Regions from separate parts of the Homo sapiens genome. Here regions 2, 3 and 4 are each linked to region 1. Evidence: promoter capture Hi-C in 16 types of primary human blood cells and fetal thymus (Javierre and others, 2016). All regions are on one chromosome and are shown on one strand. Each heading gives the region's core, a stretch centred on a gene start or on the middle of the fragment in contact. The rest is flanking DNA. Distances are from core to core; before and after follow the strand shown.

The links. Contacts are between HindIII fragments. The CHiCAGO score rates a contact against its expected background, and 5 or more counts as called.
Region 2: a contact is called between a fragment that was not itself captured here and the fragment with the promoter of NOC3L in region 1, in 1 of 17 cell types (total B cells). The highest score is 5.2, in total B cells.
Region 3: a fragment that was not itself captured here is called in contact with the fragment with the promoter of NOC3L in region 1 in 3 of 17 cell types (activated CD4 T cells, naive CD8 T cells and fetal thymus); the score reaches 10.0 in activated CD4 T cells.
Region 4: a fragment that was not itself captured here is called in contact with the fragment with the promoter of NOC3L in region 1 in 3 of 17 cell types (non-activated CD4 T cells, activated CD4 T cells and naive CD8 T cells); the score reaches 10.0 in non-activated CD4 T cells.

Annotation. Positions count from the first base shown.
Region 1 is chr10:94,361,408-94,364,972 of GRCh38, reverse strand. It overlaps NOC3L (NOC3 like DNA replication regulator), which reads left to right and starts at 2,034. Exons shown (of 21, transcript NM_022451.11): 1 at 2,034-2,143; 2 at 3,101-3,308. The coding sequence starts at 2,135. RefSeq lists a silencer at 1,831-1,960 and an enhancer at 2,101-2,360. The HindIII fragment of the contact is 1,523 bases long and covers 1,606-3,128 here.
Region 2 is chr10:87,095,370-87,098,934 of GRCh38, reverse strand. It overlaps SHLD2 (shieldin complex subunit 2), which reads right to left. Exons shown (of 10, transcript NM_001330112.2): 2 at 1,946-2,001. Among named protein-coding and RNA genes, the nearest start is that of SHLD2, 1.9 kb to the right of the region's middle. RefSeq lists an enhancer at 3,079-3,138 and silencers at 3,181-3,438, 3,359-3,565. The HindIII fragment of the contact is 450 bases long and covers 1,319-1,768 here.
Region 3 is chr10:99,617,865-99,621,429 of GRCh38, reverse strand. It overlaps SLC25A28 (solute carrier family 25 member 28), which reads left to right and starts at 991. Exons shown (of 4, transcript NM_031212.4): 1 at 991-1,385. The coding sequence starts at 1,095. It overlaps SLC25A28-DT (SLC25A28 divergent transcript), which reads right to left and starts at 585. Exons shown (of 1, transcript NR_186534.1): 1 at 1-585. RefSeq lists enhancers at 1-16, 17-599, 1,183-1,765 and silencers at 251-410, 1,141-1,300. The HindIII fragment of the contact is 1,873 bases long and covers 800-2,672 here.
Region 4 is chr10:99,427,372-99,430,936 of GRCh38, reverse strand. GOT1 (glutamic-oxaloacetic transaminase 1) reads left to right here and starts at 313. Exons shown (of 9, transcript NM_002079.3): 1 at 313-489. The coding sequence starts at 372. GOT1-DT (GOT1 divergent transcript) reads right to left here and starts at 1. Exons shown (of 5, transcript NR_183993.1): 1 at 1. RefSeq lists enhancers at 1-162, 343-392, 413-472. The HindIII fragment of the contact is 893 bases long and covers 1,152-2,044 here.

The DNA of each region.
Region 1 (3,565 bases), core at 785-3,284:
GGGACAAGTAGGAAAAGAGGCACATAAAAGAGCAATTAAAGGGAGATAAGTTTATTAGAACAAATCTTAAAAATGGAAGAGATTTGAATATGTTTATAAGCTGAGGGGAAGGATCTATTAGAGAGGGAAAGAACACAGGAAAGAAGGGATAATTAATGATACAAGAATCTGATGAAGCTGGGAGGAGTTGGTTTTGAACTGGAATGGGGATGCCTCATCCTTGGAGAGACTGGAAGGAAGGCTAAAAGGATGGGAGTGACTGTAGATATGTTGATATGCTTGGGAGGGAATTCAGGCACTTGGGAAGAGCACAGGCTGATGTTTTCCACTTGTTTGATGAAGTAATACTCCAGCGGGACAGGCTCTGCTGTTTCTGACACTGTGTGGAAGGAGACAGAGCAAGGAAGAAGTTGGAAGGGAGGTTGAAAGAAGAGTGCCAGATGGACCTCTTGGTCTTTGTGGTGGGATCAGGAAATTGGTACTTTTTTCCCTCAGTCTCTCTAAGAGCAACACTATTCAAGGGGCTCAGAACCCTTTGAGCCGCACTACTGGGTTTTCCCACCTGCTCAGGACTGCGAGGCCAGACTCTGTGTCAGGGCCATGCTCAAAAATCATAGACTCAAAAAAACCCACAAAAAACTTGAAGTGGAATGCTTAAATTTATTGAGAAAAAAAAGTCTTTGAGAGACAAGCACTTTGATACTCTTATTCTTGCAATCCATAAAACTTCCTGTAAAAATGAACGACTTTAGGCGGGGCGCGGTGGCTCATGCCTGTTATCCCAGCACTTTGGGAGGCCAAGGTGGGCGAATCACGAGGTCAGGAGATCGAGACCATCCTGGCTAACACGGTGAAACCCCGTCTCTACTAAAAATACAAAAAAAATTAGCTGGGCGTGGTGGCGGGCGCCTGTAGTTCCAGTTACTCGGGAGGCTGAGGCAGGAGAATGGCGTGAACCCAGAAGGCAGAGCTTGCAATGAGCCCAGATTGCGCCACTGCACTCCAGCCTGGGCGCCAGAGCAAGACTCCGTCTCAAAAAACAAAAACAAAAAACGACTTTGGTGAAATTACTAAGCAGACAGAATTTACCCAAAGTTGTAAGATACTGAAATGCAGATACAGTTTTTTATTTTTATTTTTATTTTTTAGACAGTCTTGCTCTGTCACCCAGGCTGGAGTGCAGTGGTGTGATCTCGACTCACTGCAACCTCTGCCTCCTGGGTTCAAGCGATTCTCCTGCCTCAGCCTCCCGAGTAGCTAGGATTACAGGCGCACGCCACCATGTCTGGCTGATTTTTGTATTTTTAGTAGAGACAGGGTTTCACCATGTTGGCCAGGCTGGTCTCGAACTCCTGGAACTCAGGTGATCCACCCGCCTCTGCCTCCCTAAGTGCTGGGATTACAAGCGTGAACCACCGCACCCAGCCATGGATACAGTTCTTTATCAGCTAATGGTTAAAAATTAAAGCAAAAAAAAAATGCAAAATAAAACACTAAGAATCACAGACTTTTAAGTGACCAAGGCTGATGAGAAATCATTCGCCATGCTACAAACACGGCCAGAATGTCCGTCGAGGGGCAGGCATTACACACAAAAAATAAGCTTCTTTCTGCCCTCAGGACTGTATGGAGGAAAAAGACTACGAAAATCAGTATCTATAACAGCATGAGATAAGCAACGTGAGGAGAGGCACAAAATGCAATGAGGTGACCGAAAAAACCAAGTCCTCTCATTCTGAGAGGAGGAGCCCGATTTCCCCAAGGTTTTAAAAGAAATAAATAGGGCGAGAGTCAAAGAATCATACTCAGATAACCTTGCAAAATGCGCCCCTCCCGCCCGGCTTCCCGCCTTTGGCACCGACGCCCTCGGGGCTTCCCTCGTGCCAGTCCGCGCGCGCACGCCGGGGGGCAACCGGTCCAGGGCCGCGAGACAGTCACCGCGAGAGGGCGCGAGCCCGAACCTGTCTACGGAAGTCCCGCCCTCACTTCCGGCGGCGGAGGATTGGGAGGGACTGAAGGCCGTTTCCGGCTCTGGTAGTGTAGGGACTTCGGCACGTGTGTCATTCCCCGGGATTTCTGTAGTAACCCTGCTTCTGGTGAACTTGTCTGGCCGGCATTCATTTAAGGCCTAAGGATGAAGGCGGTAAGTGTCCTCAAAAGCCCGGTCGCCGCGGCCTAGGGCCCCTTCGGGTGATAGAGTCACTGCCTGAGTTAGCTTTTAGGCAGGTTTTCACCCGTGTCTAGGGGGCGGTGGTTTAGACTGGGGGCTTTCCATTCCTTACACCGAGCTCATCCTTGGTTACCCACTGTGTGCGCGCACCACTTCAGAGTATCACGAAGAGACAGGCACGGAGTTTTGCATGCGTGGGATTTCATACTTTGAAGGAATTTTTCAAGACCGTCTTTCGAACTCGTTTTTCACAAATGAGAAGCAGGGTCCTACCCTCAGCGAGTTTATAATGTGAGTCACGGTACCCATGAAGGGTAAAGAGATAGAAAAGCAAGTGATTTGTCCTGGTTCTCCCAGAAAATAAGAGGTAGTCCTGGGGTTCAGGACTAACTTTGGGATTTCTGAATGAGTCACCAGCAAGAGAAGTGGAATCCAAAGATCCGAATTCAGTTTTGCCCTCCTTAGTTTATGGGTCTTTTGGCAGCTTCATCAGTAATGTGAGGATAACAGCAGTCAGTACTCAACTAGGCTGTTAGAGGTGATTTGTTGGAGCACTTTGTAAGTAATAAAATCGTAGATAAATGTAAGTTTTATTAAAGACAGCCAGCATTTTGCTTTGAATGTGTTAAACTACAGGTGTGTTAAACTAGCCTTGAATAGCCACTTACCACTACTAGATCAGTGGTTCTTAACCTGTTTGGGGATCGTAGAACCCTTTGAATTGCTGTGAATTGGGATTGAATAACTGATGCTGTAGCGCTCTTCTGTAGGATTAAAGCCATCGTTTGGTTTTAGCTTTTATATGCAAGTCTGTGGCTGTGGGACATTGAAATTGTGGAATTGGTCTAATGAAATTTGTAATCAGTTCTCTTTAACCTGATTTAAAAAATAAGTTTCTGGGTATGCAGTATTCTTTCTGTTATTTTCTAGAGAAGAAATAAAAAACAGATCCCAAGCTTTCGCAAGTTAATAAAAACTAGTAAAGTCAAACTTGAAAACAAGCTAAAAAATAAGCAGTTTAAACAACAAAGCACTCTCAAGAAGTACCGAAAAGAACAGAGGAAACTAAGGCAAGCTGTGAAAGATGCTGTGTCTAAGAAACCCATTCCATTGGAGAACCCAAAGGAAAAGCGACCAGGTAATTGTGAAAACATCATGTGCTCTGGTTTCCATTGATTTATTCTGAAGTGTTCTTCATGGAAATAACTTTGCTTTCTAGTAATCGCTTTTCTTGTTCTCAGATCTTCCTAGAGTGGGTAAGGATAGTAGTCCTATAGGACTGCTATAAAGCATATATGCTTTATCACAGTCAGTATGAGAAAACATTTCAATACAGTATTCATTCAAGCTTCTGCTTTTAGTTTGTCTGGAAGGCAGATCTGAAGATGCACTACT
Region 2 (3,565 bases), core at 294-2,793, 7.3 Mb after region 1:
GAGTGGCGGCAGGTGCCTATAGTCCTAGCTACTCAGGAGGCTGAGGTGGGAGGATTGCCTGAGCCCAGGAAGTCCAGGCTGTGGTAAACTGTGATCGTGCCACCGCACTCCAGCCTGGGTGACACAGTGAGACCCTGTCTCGAAAAATAAAAATAAAAAAAAACCTTACTTTGCAAATTATCTGTATATTTTACAAAAGCAATCATAAATCTAAAGTTGAAATTCATTAGACTTTATATCACAGTAAATAATTTCTAACTAAATGGAACAAATACTTAAAATACTCCTTGGAATAGTATAAATAGTATAACTTTGGAGTCAGATACACAGGTTTGAATCTTACCCTATTTACAAGCTTGGTGATCATCAACAATTTGTTTGGTTTCTGTGGGCCTCACTCCCTGTTTTTTTTTTTTTTTTTGAGATGGAGTTTCATTCTTGTTACCCAGGCTGGAGTGCAATGGCGCAATCTCAGCTCACTGAAACCTCCGCCTCCCAGGTTCAAGCAATTCTCCTGCCTCAGCCTCCTGAGTAGCTGGGATTACAGGGATTCACCATCACACCAGGCTAATTTTGTATTTTTAGTACAGATGGGGTTTCTCCATGTTGGTCAGGCTGGTCTCGAACTCCCAACCTCAGGTGATCCGCCCGCCTCAGCCTCCCAAAGTGCTGGGATTACAGGTATGAGCCACCACGCCCAGCCACTCCCTGCTTCTAATAAATCAGGAATTATAATACCTACAGTGTGAAAAGAAATACTCCAAATATTCACTAAATGGGGGAAGAGATGGATAATTTCATTCTGTTTTTCTAAAATCTATTTCTGCTGTTCATATTTTTTTAACAACTTGTATGTAATTTTAAAACATAATGACCAGGTGCAGTGGCTCAACACCTGTAATCCCAGCACTTTCGGTGGCCAAGGCGGGCAGATCATTTGAGGCCAGGAGTTTGAGAACAGCCTGGCCAACACTGTGGAACTTCGTCTCTATTAAAAATACAAAAAAATTAGCCTGGCATGGTGGCGGGCGCCTGTAATCCCAGCTGCTCGGGAGGCTGAGGCAGGAGAATCACTGGAACCTGGGAGGCAGAGGCTGCAGTGAGCTGAGATTGCACCACTGCACTCCAGCATGGGCAACAGAGCAAGACTGTCTCAAAAAAACAAAACAAAACAAAACCATGATGATTTTAAAAATAAAAACATCTGTTTTATAGGGTACTCATGAAGCCAGTTTGTAAGGCACCTACACACAGGAGATTCTCAATTAAAAAAAAAATAGTAATTTCCACAGCTCTATTCCTCACCTCTTCCAAAGCTTCTTCAATTCTGCCTTTCCTTTTTTGAGATGAAGACTCGCTCTGTTGCCCAGGCTGGAGTGCAATGGCACGATCTCGGCTCACTGCAACCTCTCTCCCTGGTTCAAGTGGTTCTCCCAAGTAGCTGGAACTACAAGCACTGCCCAACCCCCTCCCCGCCACCACGCCTGGCTAATTTTTGTAGGCCCCCCACCACGCTTGGCTTATTTTTGTATTTTTAGTAGAGACAAGGTTTCACTGTGTTGCCCAGGCTGGTCTCGAACTCCTGACCTCAAGTGATCCGCCCACTTTAGCCTCCTAAAGTGCTGGGATTACAGGCGTGAGCCACCTCCTTAGGCCCAATTCCACCTTCTTGAATTCAGGTGAACAAGTCACAGAAGAAGCAAAGTTAAACATTTATTTTTCTGAAGGCTAAGGTTATAAAGAACAACAAAAACAATAAAACTAAGCTTTTAAAGATTTTTCCTCAGAACATAAACAAATAATTTAATCCAAAAAGAAAAATATTTCCATGTTTACTGATGCTAATCATTTTATTCTGAAACTCCGTGGGTTTTTTGCAGGAGTGGGGGATTGCAATGTAAGAGAGTAAAACGATAATACATCCAGAAAAAAGGAAATTTGATACCTTAATCTTTTGACCATCAAGGAAAATTCAGGATTCAGGTCAGAGTACATTTTTCACTGAAAAACACAGTGCAAATACAATTAATGACAATGACTTATTTAGCAAGTAAGGTAAAATATAAGTTCCACCTGTATGAAAAGATAATTTTGACTTTGAGAGTACACTTAGATGAATGTCATTTAACAGATCCAGGTTGTCACCTTATATTTTACACAATATTTCGAGAACTAAGAACTTTCTCTTCCATATTCTAAAAGATGAATAACATGAACATATCGGGAAGCACCATCGTTTTGCAGGTCCAATGGGTGTCATTTTAAAACCACCCAAGTACACTGAGACCGCTAACGCTAGTAATGTGGTGTTTGGCAGCTAGTTTTAATGACTGTCATTAGAGCTTTATTTTTTATTTTCTTTTTATAGAGACGAGCCCAGGCTGGTCTTGAACTCCTGGCCTCAAGCGATCAGCCTGCTTTGGCCCCCAAAGTGCTGGGATTACAGGCGTGAGCCACCGTGCCAGCCTCGTTAGTTTGAAAAGCACCAAAAGCTATCCATAGGAATGTGAACTTTAGCATTTCCTATCAAGTATGTATAAATACATAACTGAACCCTCATACAGCATAAAGCTTATAAATCATATACTGAGGCCAGGCGCGGTGGCTCACGTCTGTAATCCCAGCATTCTGGGAGGCCTAGGCGGGCGGATCACTTGAGGTCAGGCGTTGGAGACCAGCCTGGCCAGCACAGCGAAACCCCGTCTCTACTAAAAATGCAAAAATTAGCCGGGCGTGGTGGCGCGGGCCTGTAATCCCAGCTACCCCGAGGCTGAGGCAGGAGAATCGCTAGAACGAACCCAGGGAGGTGGAAGCTGCAGTGAGCCGAGATGGTGCCACTACACTCCCGCCTGGGCGACAGAGCAAGATTCCATCTCAAATAAATAAATAAAATAAAAAATAAATCATATACTGAACCATTTAACAAATACATATATTCCTGAGAAAGAATTTCCTGGGGGCATTATCGCATTTCTAGTTTCCTTATTTTAGACTATTTCAGAGGGAGATAGGGTCTCCCTCTGTTGCCCAGGCTGGGGTGCAGTGGAGCTATCGTAGCTCACTGCAGCCTCGAACTCCTGGGCTCAAGCCATCCTCCAGCCTCGACCTCCCAAAGTGCTAGGACTAAAGGCGTGAGCCACCGCGCCGGGCCGGAGCCTCTGTCTGCAAAGGTGAAGCAGTCAGTACTGTGGGGCGACACAACCACGACGTGCGTAACTATGCGATCTCCACACTGCGGAGCAGTTGAACGGGACAATAAAAGCTCGCGTGGTGAGAGCTTGTGGGCGAGTGACTCCCTTCCAGCTCACGCCAGCCACGCATAATCCAACTCCGGGTGCCACGCCGCTCTCTGCAGCCCTGGCTGGTGACGCCGAGCCCTCAGCCCGGCCTTACGCGGCGGCGGCTCTGCCTCGCTTTCCTGCCCACGTGTCAGCCCCTGCACGCCCGGCCCCGGCCTGAGGCCGCCAGAGGACAGGCCAGGGTGGGCCGCCCGTTCCGAGGGCGCGCGGGCGGAAAGGAGGGGCGCCCGTGACTCACATGACCCGGTCCCCGACCAGACCGCCAA
Region 3 (3,565 bases), core at 487-2,986, 5.3 Mb before region 1:
TGGGATGCGGCCTCCAGCCCCGCCTCGCCACCGGCCGTCATCTGTGAATCATCCCGCCCATTTCGACATCTTCCTCCCCCGCCTTCGGCTCTTGGCCTGGCGCAGAGCCCAGTGACAGCCGGGGCCCGGGGAACCTCATTCATTCAACACTTGTTGGGTTTACTCTGCGAATGTGGATGCGAGGCTCAGTGCCGGGCGCTGGGGCCTGAGGAGCACCGAGTCCGGCCAGAGGGCCCAATACTCCAGACCCGACCAGAGTCTAGCGGGCCGCCGCGGTCCCCCCTGGAGGTGAGGCGGTTCCCAGCCCGCATGTCGCAACGGCTTCCCGGACAGGCTGCGGGTCGCGCCAGCCAGGGATGACCGGCCCAGGCCGGCCCCGCCTCACGCCCGCGACGAGATCCCGCGGGAACACGGCTCTCCGGGGCCAGGGCCGCCCGCTCTCCAGCCACGCGTCTCAGAATTTGAGGAGCGCACGGGAGCGCGGGTCGTAACGGCGCCCGTCAGCAGTTTGACGTTGAAGGCCTGTCGCCGCCCCGCCCCCGACGCGATCCCGCGCACAGGGACCGCAGCTCTGCAGGCGCTAGTGAGGGGCCCGAAGTCGGCCCCTAGAGTCCCTGGGCGCGTCGCTCTTTCTGTAGCCAATCGGGGACCGACGTGGTGCGGGCCAATGGCCGCGGTCAAAGTATCAAGAGTGGTTGAGCCTATCAAAGTTCAGCCTTAAGTTTCTCCCGCCCTTCTAAAAGTCAGAGGCGGGTTGATCGCACATGTCGGCCAATCAGTGACCAATAAACAAGAAGCTTCTAAGATCAAAGGGGAAAAGGTGGGATGTAGGCGCTAGCAACGCCTCAGGGCGGAGGAATGACAGGCGACTTCGCTAATACTACCGGCTGATTTTTCGTACGTAAGGAAAGGGGTGGGTCTAACTTGGCGTCTCCACCAATGGTTGCTTGGGGGGCGTGTCCGCGGGGCCAAGCGGGAGCCGGAGGCCCCGGGCTCTCTGGGCCGCGCCTGAGGCGGACACTACGGGGCCGGGGGGCGGCGGCGGCAGTGGTGGCAGCGGCGGCGGGGGTGGGCGCCGCAGCTGGCCCGGGTGGATGGAGTTGGAGGGGCGGGGTGCTGGCGGTGTGGCGGGGGGGCCGGCGGCAGGGCCCGGGCGGAGCCCCGGGGAGTCGGCGCTGCTGGACGGGTGGCTGCAGCGGGGCGTGGGCCGGGGGGCCGGCGGCGGGGAGGCCGGGGCCTGCAGGCCCCCGGTACGACAAGATCCGGACTCCGGCCCGGACTACGAGGCGCTGCCGGCTGGAGCCACTGTCACCACGCACATGGTGGCAGGCGCCGTGGCAGGGATCCTGGAGCACTGCGTGATGTACCCCATCGACTGCGTCAAGGTGAGACCTGCACCCGGCTTCGAACCCGACCTGGGGCTGACCCGACCCCTGGGTCTTGTCCGGAGCCAGGATCCCGGCTGAGAGCCGGAGCCGACATGGGTTCCTTCCTGGCTCCTGCCACTACCACATGATTCGAACCGACACTCCATTCAAGCAAGGTCCCAGCTGGGAGTTGATCCCAGTCAGGAACCAGGACCTATTTCTAACCGTCAGTGAAATCTGAATCGGGACTCAGGATCGAAAATCTGTCAGCCAAAGCCCTGGACCCCACCTGGGACTAAACAGGAATAGGGTGGGATGGGGTATCCCGAAGCTCAGGTAAGTGCTACTAACTCGATTAAGGTGAAGCCAACTGGCGTGAACCAGACCCTGAAATGGATCTAACGGCTTGAGATGTTTTCTGGGCTAGTGCTTTTACAAACTCCTTGCTGTATCTTCCCTTACTGACGGGGCAGGAACCCGAATCTGGGATCTCTCAGCTAGATAAAGGACTTACATGTTAAATCTTAACACATGAGTGATTGGAAATCATTGTGCAGTGAGAATGCAGAATTCCAGACTGGAAGTAATGTGGGAAAGATCGTATTCAGGAATAGGTTTCAGTTTCTCTGTGAAGCAAGCATGATACCCCACCTATTTCCTGAACATGAAAATTGAGCTGGGATTAGGACTGTATGTTCAGGGAGCACATCAGCCTCCAAACAAGAGAGATGAAACTGATAGCATATTTCTTTGGCCACCTGAAGTTGGCAAAAAGGGAGAAGTTGCCTAGAAAGGAAGTGTGACGGTATTAGAAAGTAGATGTAAGTATGAAGAAAATGGAAAGAGATCAACAAGAGGACACGATTCTTGTGAAAGTAAAACTAATTGCATTCACAACCAAGCAGGATGATTTATGTGTACTGAAGTCAGGTCCTTCTGAAGAAAGCTGGGTGAAGAAAGAAACAGATTATTGTTCTTTACAGTTCTTATTCTTGTACATTAGTAAAGGTGCCAGCCATTAAAGGTGAGGACTGAATTGAGGGAGAGGTAAACTAGAGGGGACTGTTGATATGACAAAGACCGATGCCTCCTTTACATGTGAAGGGTAATAGTCAAACAGTGACCTGGCAGCTTTTTGATGTATGTTTTCTCTTCAAATCAGGAAAGTGTTATGTATTCAAAAGGAGGAGAGAATCAACTTGGGAAAGGCAAAGTAGATCCCTTTTACTTCCCTTTGGTTCCAGTACTGTTTCATGTTTTTCATTAGAATGTGGATAAGGAAATGGGGGGAGCGCTCATTAAGCTTTGTGAATGACAGCAAACTGGCAGGAGTATTTTAACACAAGGTAACTCCTAACAAGGGCCATATCCATTGAAAACGGGGTAAATGCACTTGACTAAAATGGACATTAGAATGTTAAATGTCCTTGTCAATTGGGAGAAATAGAAATAAACTGTAAAATCCATGAGAGAGAAGTAACAACATTGAAATGTAAAACAAGTATAAATAAAAAAGATGCACACATTATATGTATAGACTCTAGGTTGAATGACTTGTGAGTTAATAATGCCGTATATCCAAAAGTTAATATAATCTAGCTGCAGAGTAACCTCCCTAGACTTAGACTGTGAGTAGAGTGCAGGGTTTAGGATGCTGTTTTTCTGGATGAGTATTGAATGGAAAACAGATCAATGAAAACAGTGAAAATTATGTAATGGCTTGAAAAATACAGTGTAATAATTTGTCTTAGAAATATTACTGTAACTTATCAATTTAACCACTGTTCCATTATAACAGAACGGGAGGTTATCTCCTTACTCCATATATTTACATAGTGCTATTGTTGCTATAAACATTTTATAAATCCCTGTTAAAAATGCTTCTAGAATATTTGGGTGCATGTCCTTAAGGGAGGCAAATCTTTGCCCTGTGACAAGATGGAATTGATTTTGCAAGAACAAAGACTATTCAGAATCAAATATGGTGAATAAAGTGGGAGGTCAAAATGGGTAATACTGCTTGGCATCAAAATAAGGTGGGACTGGAAAGCAAGGAGACTGCTTTACTTCTGAGGCCTATAAACCCGTTGAGGAAACACCTCTGAAAGAGAAGTTCCAGAAAGGTTTTGCATAACCACAGCTTTGCTGGAATAAGTCAATTGTAGCCTTCCAAGGTAACTATTTTGAAGAACAGTTCT
Region 4 (3,565 bases), core at 349-2,848, 5.1 Mb before region 1:
CGGCTCCTCCCCTCAGCCGGGAGACCCAAGGAATAACAGCCTCTGCGATAGGAGCACGCTCTACCAATCAACCGTAGTCTTCGCCCACGCCTCAGCCGGAGGAAATTGCATTGGTTGCATCATTCTCGGCAGCCGATAAATTGTTTTCTTGGATTGGCTAATAGCGTTCCTTCTCCCCTGTGCCTTCGTCGTCAGAAGCTGGCGATTGGTTAATCGCGTTGCCAAGCTTTGGACGCGGCTCGACCATTGGAGGCCGCGGGCCCGCCCCCGCCGGCTAGGTGAAGGTGAGTGTCTCCTCCAGTCGCAACGGCCAGACCTGACCTGCCAGCTCCGGGCGTGGGGTGAAATCTCTTGATTCCTAGTCTCTCGATATGGCACCTCCGTCAGTCTTTGCCGAGGTTCCGCAGGCCCAGCCTGTCCTGGTCTTCAAGCTCACTGCCGACTTCAGGGAGGATCCGGACCCCCGCAAGGTCAACCTGGGAGTGGGAGGTAAGGATGTAGTGCTCTGGAGTGTGAGCAGCTCGGGGAGTGGAGCGGACCCAACCCAGGTCGTGGAGACTGTGGGAGAAGCCGAGGCCCAGTGTGGCGCTGCCTGAAGAGGGCGGCGCCGGAGAGGAGGCTGGATCCACGAAGGCTTCCTAAAACCTGCCCATTTTACAGATGCAGGTGTGGAGTCCCTGGAAAGGGGCGATGTGTCCGAGGCCGCACAAACCAGGTGTAGCAGCCAAGACACAAACTCAGTCTTTCCGATTCCCCATTCTGCCTTCTTTATACTGCATCCTCCTAAGAAATGAGGCTGCCGGAGCTTGTAGAGAGAGGTAGAAAAATAGGAAGCCTGATAGGCTTAGGGTTCTGGTTGCTAGGAAATGGGTAAAGGAGAACTTTTAACGCTAGAAAGCTCTGTTCTGAGTCGGTAAATATTTGAGTGACCACCGAGTATCAATCAGCCACCTTATTAAGCTTTGTAGGGGGAGACTGAGGCTTGATTTTGCCCTTAAGGATTTAAAAATCTGCTGGTGTTACACAATGCTTTGAGACAGGTTAATGCTGCCCCCGGGGGGTCTGGGGAGATGGTTCTGGCCGTCACAGATGTGGTAGGAATGGGTAGAGATGGTGGAAAGGAGTGGAGAGAAGTATGGATGGTAGAAGCTTACTTTCCACACATCCTATCTTCATTTCTTGATTCAAGTGATTCTCTTCTGTACCTTGGACAGCTCAGAGCATGGGCCTCAGTTTCCCCATCTGCCAAGAAGATTTATATTGGAGTGCCTCTCAAATTTTTTACCCCTAACCCTCTCTGATGAATTTGTTATTCTTCTCACTATCATTTGGATGTTTGAAGCCCCACAGACACTTATTTTCTCCATTTGGATTTTGCCACGTGCAAAGACCAGCCAGAGAGATGAAAATGGGTAGGATAAAGTCTTATGCTAGGTAATAGACTTAGAATAAAAGGACTAGAAATTGTGGAAAGAGAAGGTGGAATCATTTTGTAGCAGAGTGTGACATGAAGGACGCTCAGAATCAGGTTTCTCATAGATAACGTTTTGTCTGTGCATAGCATTTGTTAAAAAAAAAAAAAAAAAGTCGGCCGGGCGCGGTGGCTCAGGCCTGTAATCCCAGCACTTTGGGAGGCTGAGACGGGCGGATCACGAGGTCAGGAGATGAGACCATCGTGGCTAACACGGTGAAACCCCATCTCTACTAAAAATACAAAAAAGTATCCGGGCGTGGTGTTGGCCGCCTATAGTCCCAGGTACTCGGGAGGCTGAGGCAGAAGAATTGCTTAAACCCGGGAGACGGAGGTTGCAGTGAGCCGAGATCGTGCCATTGCACTCCAGGCTGGGCGACAGAGCGAGACTCTTTCTCAAAAAAAAAAAAAAGTCTTCACTAAGGAGTATGGGGAGGGGTAAGGAAAAATCCATTGAAAAGTGATGGTTTGTTGAAGCGGGTAATTTGTTGAAGCTGGATGATGGGTACATGGGCATACGTTATATTATTCTCTCAGCTTTTGTATAGGTTTGAAATTTTTCATCATAAAGCTTTTAAGATAAGTCAGTACTACATAGTTTGGCCCATTGAGGGAAAATGATGTTTTTAGCAGGCAACTGAGTGGGAGAAATGTTGAAAGATTGCCTCAAATTGAATTTGAATGGACACCATTTGGTCTCTTAATTTAAAACCAGTCCAAAACCTCCAAGCGTTTCTTTGCAGCGGGATGTATACAAAGAACTAGTATTACTGTCAATCTAAATACATCTTTTTAAAACGTCAGATTTTGCCTGCCACGGTGGCTCACGCCTGTAATCCCAGCACTTTGGGAGGCCAAGGCAGGTGGATCACCTGAGGTCAGGAGTTCGAGACCAGCCTGGCTAACATGGTGAAACCCCATCTTTACTAAAAATACAAAAATTAGCCAGACGTGGTGGTGCACACTGGTAGTCACAGCTACTTGGGAGGCTGAAGCAGGAGAATCGCTTGAACCTGGGAGGTGGCGGTTGCAGTGAGCCAAGATCACGCCATTGTACTCCAGCCTGGGTAACAGAGTGAGACTCCGTCTCAAGAAAGAAAGAAAAAAAAAAACAAAAAACCACGTCAGATTTATTTTATTAATTCAATTTACCTTTGAACTATCTTACAGGGTTTCTGTGAGGATTAAGTACATTTAAAGTGTTTATAGCTGTATTTGGCACATAAGTAGGATTTATATAAGTGTTAGGTATTACTGTTATTGTTGTTTTGGCATTTCTTTGAGTGATTCTCATAAAAGATATTGAATAAAAATTTTCAGTTCAAGAACTGCAAAATGAACTAATTTATGACCTTGGTTCAGAAATAAACTGCTCCTGCAGAGAAAAAGCACCCCGACAGCACAGGCCAGAAGCAATGGACTCAGAATTGGAGTCATTGACTCAGACGGCCACCTCAGCTGTGAAGGTGCCTTTGTCATGTTTTCCAGGAACTCCAACTCCTTACCATGAGCAAATTATTTATGCATGTAATCTCACTGAATGCTCACAACTCTGGAGGGTGGTTTATTACTATTACTGTTTAGAGGCAAGGAAGCCGAAGACTGGAGAGGTGAAGCAATTTGCCCCAGGTCATTTGACCACTGGGTGGTAGAGCTGGGAATCCAGGCCAGGTCTCTCAGGCCTCAGAGTCTCTGCCCACACCTGTATTTCAGGTACCTCCAGGTGGTAGCCAGTACACTGTAGTGGGAAGAGCCAGGAGACCTAGGTACAGGCCCAGCACCGTGGTCCAGCCATGTGACTTGGAAGGGTTGTTTAACATCCCTGGGGCTCATCTGTTAAATGAGGAGCCAAGATTGAATGACCTCTCTCCCAAATTCTACTCTTAAGATTCTACTGGGCCAGGCATGGTGGCTCACGCCTGTAATCCCAACGCTTTGGGAGGCCGAGGCGGGCGGATCACGAGGTCAGGAGATTGAGACCATCCTGGCTAACACGGTGAAACCCCGTCTCTACTAAAAATACAAAAAAATTAGCAGGGCGTGGTGGCGGGCGCCTGCAGTCCCAGCTACACGGGAGGCTGAGGCAGGAGAATG